Linked DNA regions of Homo sapiens: region 2 is linked to region 1. The links are contacts of gene promoters, found by promoter capture Hi-C in human tissues and cell types (Jung and others, 2019). All regions are on one chromosome and are shown on one strand. Each heading gives the region's core, a stretch centred on a gene start or on the middle of the fragment in contact. The rest is flanking DNA. Distances are from core to core; before and after follow the strand shown.

Evidence for each region. The method cuts DNA at HindIII sites, captures the fragments that hold promoters and counts their contacts. A contact is called where the count stands out against the background at its distance.
Region 2: a fragment that was not itself captured here is called in contact with the fragment with the promoter of UGT1A6 in region 1 in 2 of the 25 tissues and cell types used here (pancreas and psoas muscle).

What each region holds. Positions count from the first base shown.
Region 1 is chr2:233,689,357-233,696,843 of GRCh38, reverse strand. It overlaps UGT1A6 (UDP glucuronosyltransferase family 1 member A6), which reads right to left and starts at 3,954. Exons shown (of 5, transcript NM_001072.4): 1 at 2,979-3,954. The coding sequence starts at 3,839. The region is part of intron 1 of UGT1A8 (UDP glucuronosyltransferase family 1 member A8); the gene reads right to left. The region is part of intron 1 of UGT1A10 (UDP glucuronosyltransferase family 1 member A10); the gene reads right to left. All of the region lies in intron 1 of UGT1A9 (UDP glucuronosyltransferase family 1 member A9), which reads right to left. It also overlaps UGT1A7 and UGT1A. RefSeq lists enhancers at 4,602-5,208, 5,209-5,816. The HindIII fragment of the contact is 31,227 bases long and covers 1-7,487 here.
Region 2 is chr2:233,656,484-233,663,970 of GRCh38, reverse strand. All of the region lies in intron 1 of UGT1A8 (UDP glucuronosyltransferase family 1 member A8), which reads right to left. All of the region lies in intron 1 of UGT1A10 (UDP glucuronosyltransferase family 1 member A10), which reads right to left. It also overlaps UGT1A. Among named protein-coding and RNA genes, the nearest start is that of UGT1A9, 12 kb to the left of the region's middle. The HindIII fragment of the contact is 7,367 bases long and covers 291-7,487 here.

The DNA.
Region 1 (7,487 bases), core at 2,705-5,204:
CAACGTCCCTTTATGATACACACTCTCAATAAACTGGCTACAGAAGGAACATACCTCAAAACAATAAAATCCATATATGATAAATCCACAGCTAACATCATACTGAAAAGGGTAAAACTGAAAACTGTTCCTCTAAAATCTGGAATAAGACAAAGATGCTGACTGTCAGCACTGTTATTCTTCATAGTACTGGAAGTCCTATCCAAAGCAATTAAGCAAGAGAAAGAAAGAAAGAAAGGGCATCCAAGTTGGAAAGGAAGAAGTCAAATTATTCTTGTTCTCAGATGACATAATATATTCAGAAAAATTTAAACATTCCACCCAAAAGCTGTTAGAACTGACAAGCAAATTCGGTAAAGTTGCAGTATACAAGATCAACTTACAAAAATCAGTAGCATTTATAAATGCCAACAGAGAAAAAACTGAAAAGGAAATCAACCCCATTTACAAAACGTACAAAGAATATATAATACCTAGGAATAAATTTAAGGAAGGAAGTGAAAGATCTGTATAAGGAAATGAGGATGAAGACCAAATATATATTTCACGATATTACAGTCCTACGTTTTCTTTATCCATTCATTCACTGATGTGTGCTTAGGTTGATTCCATATTTTGGCTACTGTGAATAGTGCTATAATAAACATGGGAGTGCAGATAGCTCTTCAATATATATTTTTTTCTTTTGGATATATACCCAGCAATGGGATATATTGGGGCAGTTCTAGTTCTTTTTGTTTTGTTTTGTTTTGAAGACTCTCCATACTGTTCTTCATAGTGGCTGTACTAATTTACATTCTTCAAATGTAAATTAGGGACTGAGCCCCATGTCTGTGGGACCTGATGCTATCTTCAGGTGGACATCTTCAGAACTGAATTAGAGGACACCCAGCTGGTATCTGGCAGAATTGCCTGCTTGCTTGGTGTGTGGAGAAAAAAAACCCCACACATTTGTTCACTGAAGTTTTCTGCGTTGTTTGTTGTTGAGTGAGAAAACAGGAAAAACCCTTTGAGTTTTTTGTTGGTTTTGTTTTCCACTCACAGATAGTACATATACAGAATGGAAAATTATTCAGCCATAAAAAAGGATGAAGACCTGTCATGTGCAGCAACATAAATGTAACTGGAAGTCATTATGTTAGGTGAAATAATCTAGGCACAGAAAGACAAATACCACATGTTCTCATTTATATGTGGAGCTAAAAAAGTGGGTCTCATGGAGGTAGAGAGTTCATTGGTAATTACCAGAAGGTGGAAAGGGTAAGTAGGGAAGGGGGGGTGAAAATGGTTGGTTAAAATTTAAAAAAGAAAAAGAAAAAAGAAATAAAATTTGTAATACTCCAAAAACTTTGATAGAAAAGAGAAAAACATCTAAAGGGCCAATAAAGCACGTTGATCAAAAAAAAAAGAAGAAGAAGAAGGCCGGGCGCGGTAGCTCACGCCTGTAATCCCAGCACTTTGGGAGGCTGGGGTGGGCGGACCACGAGGTCAAGAGATTGAGACCATCCTGGCCAACGTGGTGAAACCCCGCCTCTACTAAAAATGCAAAAATTAGCTGGGAATGGTGGCACATGCCTATAGTCCCAGCTACTCAGGAGGCTGAGGCAGGAGAATCGCTTGAACCCAGGAGGTGGAGGTTGCAGTGGGCTGAGATCGCACCACTGCACTCCAGCCTGATGACAGAGTGAGACTCTGTCTCAAAAAAAAAAAAAAGAAAAGAAAAGGGTTGGTTAATGGGCACAAAAACACCATTAGATAGAATGAGTAAGTCCAAAGTGCGATAGCACAGTAGGGTGACTATGGTTAACAAGAATGTATACTGCAGTTCAAAATAGCTAGAAATGAAGAATGGGAATGTTCCCAACATAAGGAAGGAATAAATGTTCAAGGTGATGGATATCTCAATTACCCTGATTTGATCATCGCACATTGTATACGTGTATCAAAATATCACATGAACCCCCCAAATGTGTACAACTATATTATGTCCCAATTAAAAGAATCCTGACATTCTATGTTTTTATTTCATGCCCCAGAATCCCTGGAACCATTTCAGTTATCCCCATCCCCTCACCCTTGCCTTTTCACAGTGGCTACTGCCAACTGTTCAAATTGTTAACAGAGAAATCAGCAGGTGTAAAGAAGAGAGGTAAGGGTCTTTGGGACCTGTTTGAGGCTTTCTCTCTGATAAAAAAGGAACTGGAAAAGAAAATTGAGGCATAAAAGATAGAGGGAGTTGCCTGAAGCCCTTCAAAGTTGTAAATATTTACATTGAAATTTAAAACTCACAGATTTTTATTTTCCAAAGTAACTCTGGGCCCTTTTCCTACATGTCAGGAGGGCATCTGTAAACACTTGTCTTAGGTCAGAGGCCATACCCCTTTTGCTGAAAAGGCCAGTCAGTAAATGTGTAGGCTTTGCAGACCAAATACTTCTGTGGCACATATTCTTCATTGTTAAATTGTTTTAAAACTACAAAAACCATTCTTAGCTCTGGGCCATATAAAAACAGGTCTCAACATAAAAGGAAAAAAAAAAACAAAAAACAGGCCTTTGGGCAGATTGGGCTCACAGGCTGTAGTTCGCTGGTCCCTGGCTCAAGGTCCAGAGACAAAGCATGGGACAGAGTTGGGAAAATGGATTTTAACCTGGACCTGTTCCCTTAGTCAAGCCTTCACCTCTGTTTGAACTGGGACATTTCTAAGGCTCATTCAATGAGTATGTGACTGTCCCAGATTATCCAACTAAGCAAATCTCCTACTCTTGCCAAGCATGAGCCCTGTCTTCATCCGAATGCCTCTGTATCACTTCAGCCTCAGGTCTCCTATGTGTTCCCGCTGCTCCGAGCCGGGTATCACTTCCCCCCACCGTTTCTCCAGGAAATCCTCCAAGGGACAGTCGGCTCAAGGAGCCAAATGAGTGAGGGAGGACAGAGCCTGGAAGAAACAAGGCAGTCCAAAAGAAATAAACCCACCAACCTGAGACAAGTCTTTCCTCTTCTTACAGTTGATACCTCCAATGAAGACCATGTTGGGCATGACCGGCCTAGGATATTCAAGCACAAAGTCATATCTTAACAGCCAAACAGAGACCTTCTGATATAAGGTGATTATATCCACATCTCTCTTGAGGACAGCTGATGCGAGTTCTTCATACTTTGAAAACAGACAATAAAATAGATAGGGCTCCAACAAATTAACAAGGAAGTTGGCCACTCGTTGGGAAAAAGTCATGTGGTCTGAAAACTTTGTGTAGCACCTGGGAATGTAGGACACAGGGTCTGGGCTTCTGCTGAATGTATGCTCCAGGGAACACGGAAAACCCCTGAAGAGGTACACAGATGGTAGGCCCAAATACTCAGCCAGGATCACCCCACAGGGTAAGGCTGGGTCTGTGAAAAGAGCATCAAACTTGCTCTCCTTAAAGAAGTTCAGGGTGTCCCTGTCCTGCAGGAGGCTCTGGCAGTTGATGAAGTACAGGCCAATAACAATCATGTTATTCCTGTACTCTGTCTGAGGAGCAGTTAGGAATGATCGCTCAGCAAAGTGATTGTTTCCAAATGATTGGTAACGGTTCTTCAGCTCTTCTTGGTCATACGGCACTGGATAGATTTTTCTTGTGTAGTATTTGGATTCTTTCAAAAGCAAATTAACTTCAGGCACCACCACTACAATCTCATGACCCCGGTCACTGAGAACCTCAACTATATCCTTCATACTAAGCCAGTGGCTTCCGTCCTGAGGGACCACCAGCAGCTTGTCACCTACAACCATGCCCCAAAGTGCTAAGAAGAAAACCCCTGCAGAAATTCTCTGAAATGAGCGAAGGAGGCAGGCCATCCTGGAAAGAGTTAAAGTAACAACGGTAATAAAGAGTTTTCACTCTCCAAATCACAGGGCTCCTAGGTATTTTCCCTAAACTAACCACTGCTTTTCACAGGTCCTGTCTACCTCTCCCTTGCTCTGAATTTTACCCTTTGATATGTAAGAACCCAAATTAATATTTAACCATTTTAATCACATGGTTAATATGAACCAACTATGGCCGTGTCAGCTTTCACCTGAGCTTCTGGGTGTTTCTCTTCAGCTCCACAAGTCTGCTTCTCCCTCTCTGAAAAGTTATAGCAACACTTTGAAGATGACTTGGAGAGACCCCTGAGGACCCCCTGCCAATTCTCTATCCCGAACTTGCTGGATTCCTCATCATTGACGTTGTCTGTTATGTCCATGATGTGCGGGAATTTTTCTTGCACACGGACCTATTCTCTAACACCAGCTGGGTATCCTACAATTCAATTCCATTCTGAACTGAATTCTGAGTTAGCACGGACCCCACAGGTTAAGGGCTCAGTCCTACAAGACTGCCCTCACTTCAGACACCAATTGCAAGTAGTAGGTCCCCAGGTTACCCACAACTTCTGTCTGACTTGGCAAAAATCAGAGGTTCACACACCCTCTTTCTTGGAGTCAATCATTTGCTAGAATGGCTCACAGAACTGAAGAAAACAGTTTATTTACTAGGTTTGGTTTATTACAAAGGATATTGCAAACAATACGGATGAATAGCCAGAGGAAAAAGTACAAAGAACAAGATATGGGGGTATGGCCATGGAGCCCCATCTGCCATCTCTGGGTGCCCCACCCTCCACACCTTCAGCAACCTGAAAGCTCTCTGAACCCTGCCCTTCTGAGTTTTTATGTAGGCTTCCATACATAGTAGGCATGATTGATTAGATTGTTGCCCATCGGTGATCAAATCAATCTTCAATCTCTCTCTCCTTTCTTCCCTCTAATCGCAAGGGTTTTGTTCCCTGGCAACTAGCCCTCATCCTTAGAGACTTTACATCTCCTTTACATAAACTTAGGTGTGATCGAAAGGGATCTGTTTTGAATAACAAAAGATTCTTTGTTCACGTTTATCGCTCCCACCACTTATGGTTTCAGGAGCTGTGTCCAGGAAACAAAGACAAACATATATTTCTTATTATACATCACAATATAACAACATTCAAACTGTTACTTGCCTTTAGGAAATTAAGATTTGAGAAGTATAAGTCTAGCCAGTACGTGGTGAGAATCCTAGAGCAGGAGTCAGAAAGCCTGGTATCTGCTTCTGGCCCAGCCACCCATCTGCCAGGGGAGTGACTCCTCTCCTGAGCTTCAGGTTTCTCAACTGAGGCCCAGAAAGGGAGGGTCACACTGGCCCTGCCTGCTAACCACACTGCTGAGGGCGGTCCCAGAGCAAGACCTGTGTAGAAACTAGGCTGTCCCAGTGAGAGGTGGTACCTTGAATTACTAGAACAGACTTGCCCAGAGCTAGTCATGCACACCTGGCTGGCACGCGAGTTCCTGTTCCCACCCACAAGTTTGGCACCGGAGGTGTTCTGGGGCCCAGGAAGGGAGAAGAAGCCTGAGCAACATGATTAGAGGGGCCACTCCAAGGACAGGGCTGGCCCCCATGGGGAACATAACCAGGATGCAAATTCATTGTTCAAGGCATGCGAAGACTCAGCTCAGTCCAAGCTGGGAGCAGCCTCCCAAGAGGATTGGCAGCTTACAATGATCAAAGTCATGGGGGCGGCAGCATCTTGCTTTGAGTTCATCTAGATAGCAATAAGACTCCAGGAAGGTTGCAAAGGGAACAGAGCTCAGGTCCACCTTCTTGAGCAGGCAGACATTAGGCAGGTTTCCTTCAAAGAACAGTTCATCTAGAGGAAGAATGGCTTAAGCAAGCATGTAGGAATAGCGGGATCAAGAGATGCTACAAACTTCACATTCTTTATACTAGACCTCCACTCTGCTGTGGACGTTGGTCTGAGCCCTTCCAACCACAGCCTTGCTCTGAAAATCCTGTTGCTCATATGTGGGTCCTGTTCTTAGTCCCAGAAGTCCCTACAGAACATGAGTTGGAGGAAGGAGCTGAAGAAATGAAACTAACATCACTATGCATACCATCCCTTGAATTCCTAACACCTTCTTGCAAATTAAGAAGGTATTAGAAAACATTTTTCTTTCTCCTGTGAGCTTTGACTGTACTAAGAATGGTGTGTGTGTGTGTGTGTGTGTGTATGTGTGTGTGTGTGTATGTCTGCACTGGACACTAGCCAGAGGAATCTGGCATGTCTGTTCGTCATAATGACGATCCCTAAAGAGTAGCTCCGCTGGAGACCCAGGCCTGCCCTGGTTGGTGCTGTAGGAGTCAAGGTGTCCTCAGGTATCACTTGAGTGTCCAGGCAAAGGCCGATTTTTTTTTTTTCTCAGGGATTGCTGCAGGCTGAATGACTCAGGCTTGGGACATATTCCAGTGGGGTGAAAGAAGTAGATCCTAAGATAAAACAAATCTCTGTTGGCAAGAGCAGATTTCCCAAAAAGTAAATGGAGGATAGCTGGCATTTTGAATAGAGGAGAGACCCAAAGATGTGCATGAAGGTAATTTCATGTTGGGAATAGGAAGGTCTGGAAACGTGGACCCTATGGAGAGGTTTGCTTCTAAGGTGCTAACTCTTTCAGACCCTTGTATGACCTACGACCCATAAGTAATGGAGCCAGGACCCACCTGCAAGATTTCAAAGGACCTGCAAAATGTTTGAGACTTAAAATAAGAAATTTGCTGAATCTAGAATACTAAAATGGCAAACATTGAATTTATGAATATTTTATGAAATGGCTATAAAAACATAACTACATGTCAATGAATCCACTACAGATTAGCTCACCAAGTTACAAAGACATATGTGACATAAGATGCAGGAGCAATTTAATCTATTTGATAGGCTGTGAGGTGGGGCTGCAGAAGTCAGAATGCTCTGGGCCCAGATCTTGAGGAAGGTCCAAAATGGTGAGATGAAGTGAGAATCCCTTTTAGGGGCCTGTGGGTTCCTCCAAGCATGGAAATAAAGGAAAATCTTGGGTTCTTTCGAAGGAAATTCCAGGCACCTACCTGGCCCTGAGAAATAAATAAGGCACTTGATAAGCAAGAAGGTAATAGTAGCCTAAAACAATATCCAAGAAAGTTAGAGTCCAGAGATGTTTGGTTTCCTATAGAAACTACAGATCACATCATAACATATGTCCCCGAGTTGTTTTTCAGAAACCTGGACTCCCACCAAATGGATTCTTTGGCAGGCAGACCTCAGATAAGGGGAAATAACGACTGAACTCTGACAGCCATTCTTTGTTCTTGGAGGAAGTCACACTCATGAGCAAGAGCAAACATTCTTTTCTGCTAACCCCGAATTTTAAACCAAGCTTCTCTTCCTTAGCTAATTGCAAATCAGAAAATCTCTGAATTCACCTATGACCTGCAAGCCCTCACTTCTCATGACCAAACCAATGTGTAACCTCTGCGTATTGATTTGCGATTTCTTCTTGTAACTTCTGTTTTCCTAAAATGTATCCTTGCTCTTAAAAACCTTTACTTGCAAGCCATTAGAGAGATTGGGTCTCAAGTATAAGCCTCCTAACACTCCTTGCTTTGTGCCCTGCACA
Region 2 (7,487 bases), core at 2,725-5,224, 33 kb after region 1:
TACCTACACTTAGATGCAAGGACAAAGAAATGACTTAAAGTTGGAAGTTATATCATTCTACTTGTATGAGGTATCTAAAATAGAGAAATTCATAGAATCAAAAAGAGGAATGGTGGTTGCAAATGAAACCGCCTTTGCAAAATTATGCCTGAGACAGTGAAAAAGATCTAACTTAACTGACTCCATCTTGCTTCTAACCTCCAAGCTGTCCTTGTTCATTCCTGGACATAGACTGAACCAACTTTGGGAGAAACTTATTTTATAGTTGTTTAAAACAAAGACAATAACAGCCCTTTCTCAAAGCAGACCTCCTTCTTGCCAGGGGACTAGATTCCCTTTGTAGGACTAGCATTAGCCACAAGATTAGAAATTATGGTTTAGGATTCATGCAGATGGAGGTTACGAGATTCTGACCCTCCCTAAACCACTCCTAAGATCAGTGCTTGAGACATTTTGCAGACCCTGTCCTTGATGGATCAGCTGGCACCACCCAGATCAATAAACTGGCTCATCTGCTCTTGTGGCCCCCACCCAGGAACTGATTCAGTGCAAGAAGACAGCTTCAACTGCCTAAGATTTCATCCCTGACCAATCAGCACTCCTGGATTACTGGATTCCCCCAACCCACCAAGTATTCCTTAAAAACTGTTCCCCAAATTGCTTGGGGAGACTGATTTGAGTAATAATAAAACTCCGGTCTACCACACGGCTAGTTCTGCATTAATTACTCTTTCTCTATTGCAATTCCCCTGTCTTGTTATATTGACTCTGTCTAGGCAGCAGGCAAGGTGAATCCCCCGGGTGGTTACACCAGGGCTTGGAGGAGAGGGGAATGGGCAATTATTGTTTAATGGGTCCCAAGCTTCAGTTTGGGAAGATGAAGAGAGTTCTGCAGATGAATGGTGGTGTTGGTTGCACAGCAATGTGAATACACTGGATACTGAACTGTGCACCTAAAGTGGTGAAGATGACAAGGTTTATGCTATGTGTATTTCACCATAATTAATGATAAAATAAATAAGCTTTAAAAATAAATCTAAGTAACATACCATATAAATAAACTAAAACTGTATAACCATGTAGCAATCTTAATAGTTACAGAAAAAGTGTTTGACAGAGTCCAAAATTCATATCTGACAAAAAAAAAAAAAAACTCTCAGCAAACTAGGAAAAGAAGAGAAGTTTCCAAAGCTAATGAAGGGCATCTTGGAAAAACCCACAGCTAACATCATCCTTAATGGTGAAAGACTGAATGCTCCACTCCTCAGATCAGACACATGCCAAGAATGGGGGCTAATTACTACTTCCATTCAACATTGTTCTATTCAATGCAGTCAAACAAGAAAAAGAAATTTAAAATATCCAGATCTGAAAAGTAAAAGGATCTCATTCACAGTCAACATGATCATCTATGGGGAAATTCCAACAAACTCTACAACAACCTCCAAGAACAAATAAGTAAGTTTAGCATGGTTGCAGGATACAATAAGTAAAAGTTAATTTCATTTATATAAATGGTTACTCATGAACATTAAGAGTTTCAACGGTGTTGGTCCATTTATGGGCAGATTTGTTGCAATAAATATATTAGAAAATGTTATGGAGATTTGCAACAAATTGAAAAACTTGCAGATAAGCCACATAGCCTACAATAGTGAAAAAATTAAGAAAAACTTGAGTATGTCAGGAATGCCTAAAATATATATAGCAACGAGTCTATTTTATCATTTACTACCATATTATAGACACAAATCTATTTTAAATAGTTAAAATTTATCAAAACTTATGCACACAAACACTTACAGACTATACATGACACCATTTGTAGTCAAGAGAAAAGTAACAAAGGTAAGTTTGCAGCATTAAGTCATAACTGCATAGAGTTAACTGTGCCTACTGTACTATTGTGATAATTTCATAGCCACCCCCTGTTGCTATTGCAGGGAGTTCAAGTGTTGCAAGTATCCACTCAGTACGCCGTGTGAGGCTGATCATCTCCATGTGTACAGTTCATCCCTCCAGTAAATTGTGTATCACAGTAAACACTGATCTCACAGTTCTCATGCATTGTTTGTCATGTTTGGTGCATATCAGAAACTCTAAATAATACCATAGGACCCATACAAAGTGTCGCTAGTGATGCCTCAAGTGCTCCCATGAAGCAGAGAAATTCATGATATTACAAGAAAAGTTGAATTGCTTGATATGTACCATAGGTTGAGGACTGCAGCTGTGGTTGGCGATCATTAAAAAAAAAAAAAAGAATCCAGATAAGGACCTTTGTTTAAAAAGAAAGAAAGAAAGAAAGAAAGAAAGAAAGAAAGAAAGAAAGAAAGAAAGAAAGAAAATTCAGTAAGTCTTCACTGCAGTGATGCCAGCAGGCTTCAAACCTTGCACTTTTTCCAAAATATCTTTTTATCTCATATTAAAAATGCAGCTTTTCAATCTCAATGGACTCCACTGCCAAGGTAGAAAGAAGGATATTCAAAGAGTTAATGGATAAAAAGAACTAGGATTCCATCTGTGGGTTAAAGATTAATAGTGAGAAAGGTCTTACTGAGAAACTGGCAGATTTTTTAACCAAGTGAAAACTATCATATATCCTAAGTGTTTAAGGAGTCTCCTGGTGGTAATGGTAATGACAGCACCATGGTGTGCACAGCCCACACAGAGAAATAAGTTCTTTACAGCCTCATGGGAAGTCCTCTGTGCCCTATCAACAAATTCAAGACCAAAAGTAGAAAATTAAGGTAGGAAAATAGACCAGACTGTTGGGGAACGCTCACATATTTCAGAAAAAAAAAGTCTGAAACTAGAGTCATTACATCCATAGATAATTTGTCAAAGAGTAATTCTGTATCATGATTATCTACATAAAATTTTATTATAAAAAATGCAGCTTTTATGTGGGTGTAGGATGGTTATAAGAAAGGCATACCTATATACTCTAATATGACCTGAGAAAAACAAAGTCATTATATGACAACATAAAGCTAAATAAAACTGAAGGATATAAAGCTGGAGAATTTAATGGCAGCAAAGGATGGTTTGCTAGTTTTAGAAAGAGGTTTGACTTTAAAAATCTCAAGATAACAGAAGCAACTTCTGCCAAACAAGAGGTAGCAGGTGACTTCCCAGACCCCATGAAGAGAAGCATTGAGGAGAATGAATATCTGCCTGAGCCAGTTTTTAATTCATGCAAAAGTGCCCTATTCTAGAGAAAAAAAATGCCACAAAAGACATTTATAAGTAAGGAAGAGAAGCGGGCACGAGGATTTAAGCCAGGAAGAGATAGACTAACTCTGTCGTCTTATGCAAATACAGTCCAATTTATGATTAAGAATAACCTTATCTATAAAGCTGCTAATCCTTGAGCCTTTAAGGGAAAAAATAAACGCCAGCTCCCAGTCTTTTTGTTGTAGAACAAGAAGGCCAGTACAACAGAAACACTTTTTCCAAACTGGTTCCATGAAAACCAACGCTTTGTCTCTGAAATCAGAAATACCTTGCCACTAAAGGACTGTCTTTTAAATTACTTTTGATATTGGACAATGCCTCTAGCCATCCAGAACCCCATGAATTCAACACAAAAGGAGCCAAAGTGGTCTCCATGTCCTCAAACATCATCTCTAATTCAGCCATTAGAACAAGGGGTTACAAGGCACTTTAAGGCTCATTACACATGGTTTTCTATGGAAAGGATTGTCAACACTATGGAAGAGAATGTCAGCGGGGCGAACATCATGAAAATCTAGAAGGATTACACTGTGGAAGATGTCCTTGTTGTATAGAAAAAGCTGTGAAAGCCATCAAGCCCTAAACAATACATTATCGCTGCAGAAAACTGTGTCCAGATGTTGTGCGTGACTTCACAGGACTTAAAACAGAGCCAATCAAGGGACTCATGAAAGAAATTGTGGATATGGCAGGCAAGAAAAACAAGGTGGGCATAAAGAGTTTGAAGACAGAGATCTTGGAGATACTTAAAAGCTAATAGACACCACACCTGAGGAATTAACAGAAGATGACTTGATGAGATGAGTGCTTTTGAATCAGTACCAGACAATGAGGAAGAAGATACAGAAGAAGCAGTGTCAGAAAATAAATTGACATTAGACAATCTCGCAGAAGGATTCCGATTATTGAAGACTGCTTTTGACTTCTTTTGCAAATTGTACCCTTCTATGATATGGGCACTGAAACTAAAGCAAATGGTGAAGAAGAATTCATACTATATCAAGCATTTTTAAAGAACTGAAAGAGCAAAAATGTCAGACAGTAATTATGATGTATTTCCATTAAGTTAAATCGAGTGCGCCTGCCTCTCCTGCCTCCCTTTCCACCTCCTCCACCTCTTCCTCATCTGCCATCCCTGAAAAAGCAAGACCAACCCCTCCTCTTCCTCCTCAGCCTACTCAGTGGAGGACAATCAAAAGGAAGATCTTTATGATGATCCACTCCCACTTAATGAATACTTAATACATTTTTTCTCAACCCTAAAATTTTTTCTCAAACCTTAAAATTTTCTTAATAACATTTTCTTTTATCTAGCTGACTTTATTACAATAATACAGTATATAACACATAAAGCATATCAAATATGTGTTCATTGGCTATTTACGTTATTGGTAAGGCTTCTGCTATACAGTAGGCTATTAATAGTTAAGTTATGGGGGTCAAAATGATATGTGGATTTTAGACTACCTGCGAGGTTGGTATCCCTAATCTCCACATTGTTCAAGGGTCAACTGTACTAGCAATGAACAATTGCAAATTGAATGAAAATACCACTTAACATCAAAAACATGAAATACTTAGGGATAAATCTGATCAAAGATGTGAAAGACTACACTGAAAACTAAAACACTGAGGAGAGATCTGAATATAGAGATATGTTCAAGAATTGGAAAACTCAAAATTGTTAGGATGCTGTTTCTCCCCAGTTGAACTGTAACTTAAATATGATTTCAACCAAAATCCCAACAGGCTTTTTTTTGTGCAAATTGGCAAACTGACTCTAAAATTCATACAGAAATGTAGAAAACCTACAATAGCAAAAACAACTTTGAAAAAAATTAGAGAGCTAATACTACTCATTTCAAGACATTACAAAGCTATAATTATCACATATTTCACAACTGGATCAATGGAACAGAGTAGAAAGTCCAGAAATAGATGTTTAGCAGTATGAACAACCAAGTTTTTACAAAAGTGCAAAGACAATTCAGTGGAGAAAAGACTACTCTTTTCAAGAGTTGGCTATCCATAGTCAAGAAAGCAAGAAAAGACATTACCTTTGTGGTCTTACTTCCTAAAACCTATAACCCCAGTCTAACCATGATCAAAACATCAGACAAACCAAGACTGAGAAACATTCTACAGAACATCCGACCAGAACTGCTCAAAACTGTCAAAGTCATCGAAAACAAGGAAAGTCTGAAAAACTGTCACACGGTACAGGAGATGAAGGGGGCGTGATGGGCTAAATGTCATTTGGTATCCAGGATGGGATCCTAGAAATGAAAAAGGACATTAGGTAAAAATTAATGACATCTGCAGAGAACACAGACTTTAGTTCATCATAATGTATCAAATGTTGGTTAATGAGTTGTGATAATATGCTATAGTAACGTAACATTTAACCATAGGGGAGGATGGGTGCCATTGCTCACACCTGTAATCCCAGCACTTTGGGAGGCCAAGGTCCGTGGGTCTCTTGAGGTCAGGAGTTTGAGGCCAGCCTGGTCAACATGGTGAAACCCTGTGTCTACTAAAAATACAAAAATTAGCTGGGCATGGTGGTGTGCACCTGTAATCCCAGCTACTCAGGAGGCTGAGGCACAAGAATCATTTGAACCCAGGAGGCAGAGGTTGCAGTGAGCCAAGATTGCCCCACTGCACTCCAGCCTGGGTGACAGAGTGACACTTTGTCTCAAAAAAAAAAAAAAAAAAGAGGAGGAAACTAGGCACAGGATATGAAAATTCTCTGTGCTAGTTCTTGCAACCTTGCATAAATCTAAATTTCTTCTAAAATAAAAAGTTTCATGGAAAAAAGCCCAGAAACTGATAAAGTATAAATATCCAGAATATATAAATAACTTTTAAACCTCAATAATGAAGAGAAAACCCAATTTCTTAAAAAGTGGCATAGACCTGAACATTTACCAAAGAACATATACAGATGGCAAACAGTCACACATAAAGATGCTCAACATCATATTTAAATAGGAAAATCAAATTAAAATTGCAATTTAATTTACATACCCATTAGAATAGCTGCAATCAAAAAGACTGACCATATCAAATGATATAGTTTAGATATCTGACTCCCTCAAGTCAAGTGTTGAAATTTAATCCCTAATGTTGGAGGTGGGGCTTAGTGGGAGGTATCTGGGTTACAGGGATGGATCTCTCACAAATGACCTAGTATGTTTTTCCCGATAATGGGTGAGTTCCTGTCCTATTGCTCCTGCAAGAACTGATTGTTAAAAAGATCCTGGCAACCCCTCCTTTTTCTCTTGCTTCTTTCTCACCTTGTGATCAGCACCTTCCACATTCACCTTCTGCCATGAGTGGAAGTAGCCCAAGTCTTTTGCCAGAAACAGATGTTGGTACCATGATTCTTATACAGCCTGCAGAACTGAGGGCCAGATATTATCTCTTCCTTATACATTACCCAGCCCCAGGTATTCCTTTAGAGCAACACAAAAAAACTAAACCGCCAGGTGCTTCTGAGCATGAAGAGTGGCATAAAATAAAGCCCATGAGCCAGGAAAGGTGAGATGATGGGGGACCTTGATAGCTAGTGGGGGCCAGCAGGCCACAGGGCATCACCAGAATGTCTTGAGTGGGCCAAAGAGACGGTGTATTGTGTTGGGTATCACATTCTTAGGGTAGACCAAAGGAAAGAAGCTGGTGAGGGGAAGCAGCAGTAACTGACACCAGGGATTTCATAAAGACGTAGAAAGGTTAGGTCCTAACGCAGGCGGAGGCTCCACCTGGGCTCACCTGTTTCAGGAAGACTCACAGGAAAGGAAAAAAAAAAAAGATGTTTAACTAAGGGAGATGCCACATGAAGCATGTGCGTGTTTATCTGCACATCTTAATAGGGATGCCCAGGAACGTGTAAACTGAAAAGAAAATACTAAGTGCCGCCCGTCTCCCACAACAAGTGAATCGAACCCTCCTGGCCAGCGGGACCCCAAAGAAACCTTCAAAACTGAGTCACAGCCACGACGGGACAGAAGGCTGGACACGCCTCGTCACACTCCCTCCCTTTTGTGGTTTAAACACAACTGACCCACTTTAGTGTTAAAATAGAGATGAGATGGACTCAGTGGACTTTTTGTGGCAATCAGATACAAAACTACACACAAGACCTCAAACCACGCCAGGCAAGAGTTGAGTCATGGGCGCCTACACTTAAAGAATAAACTATGTTCCAACTGCCACAGAGTTTTTCTTTTTCTCTAGCAGCTAAATAAGCA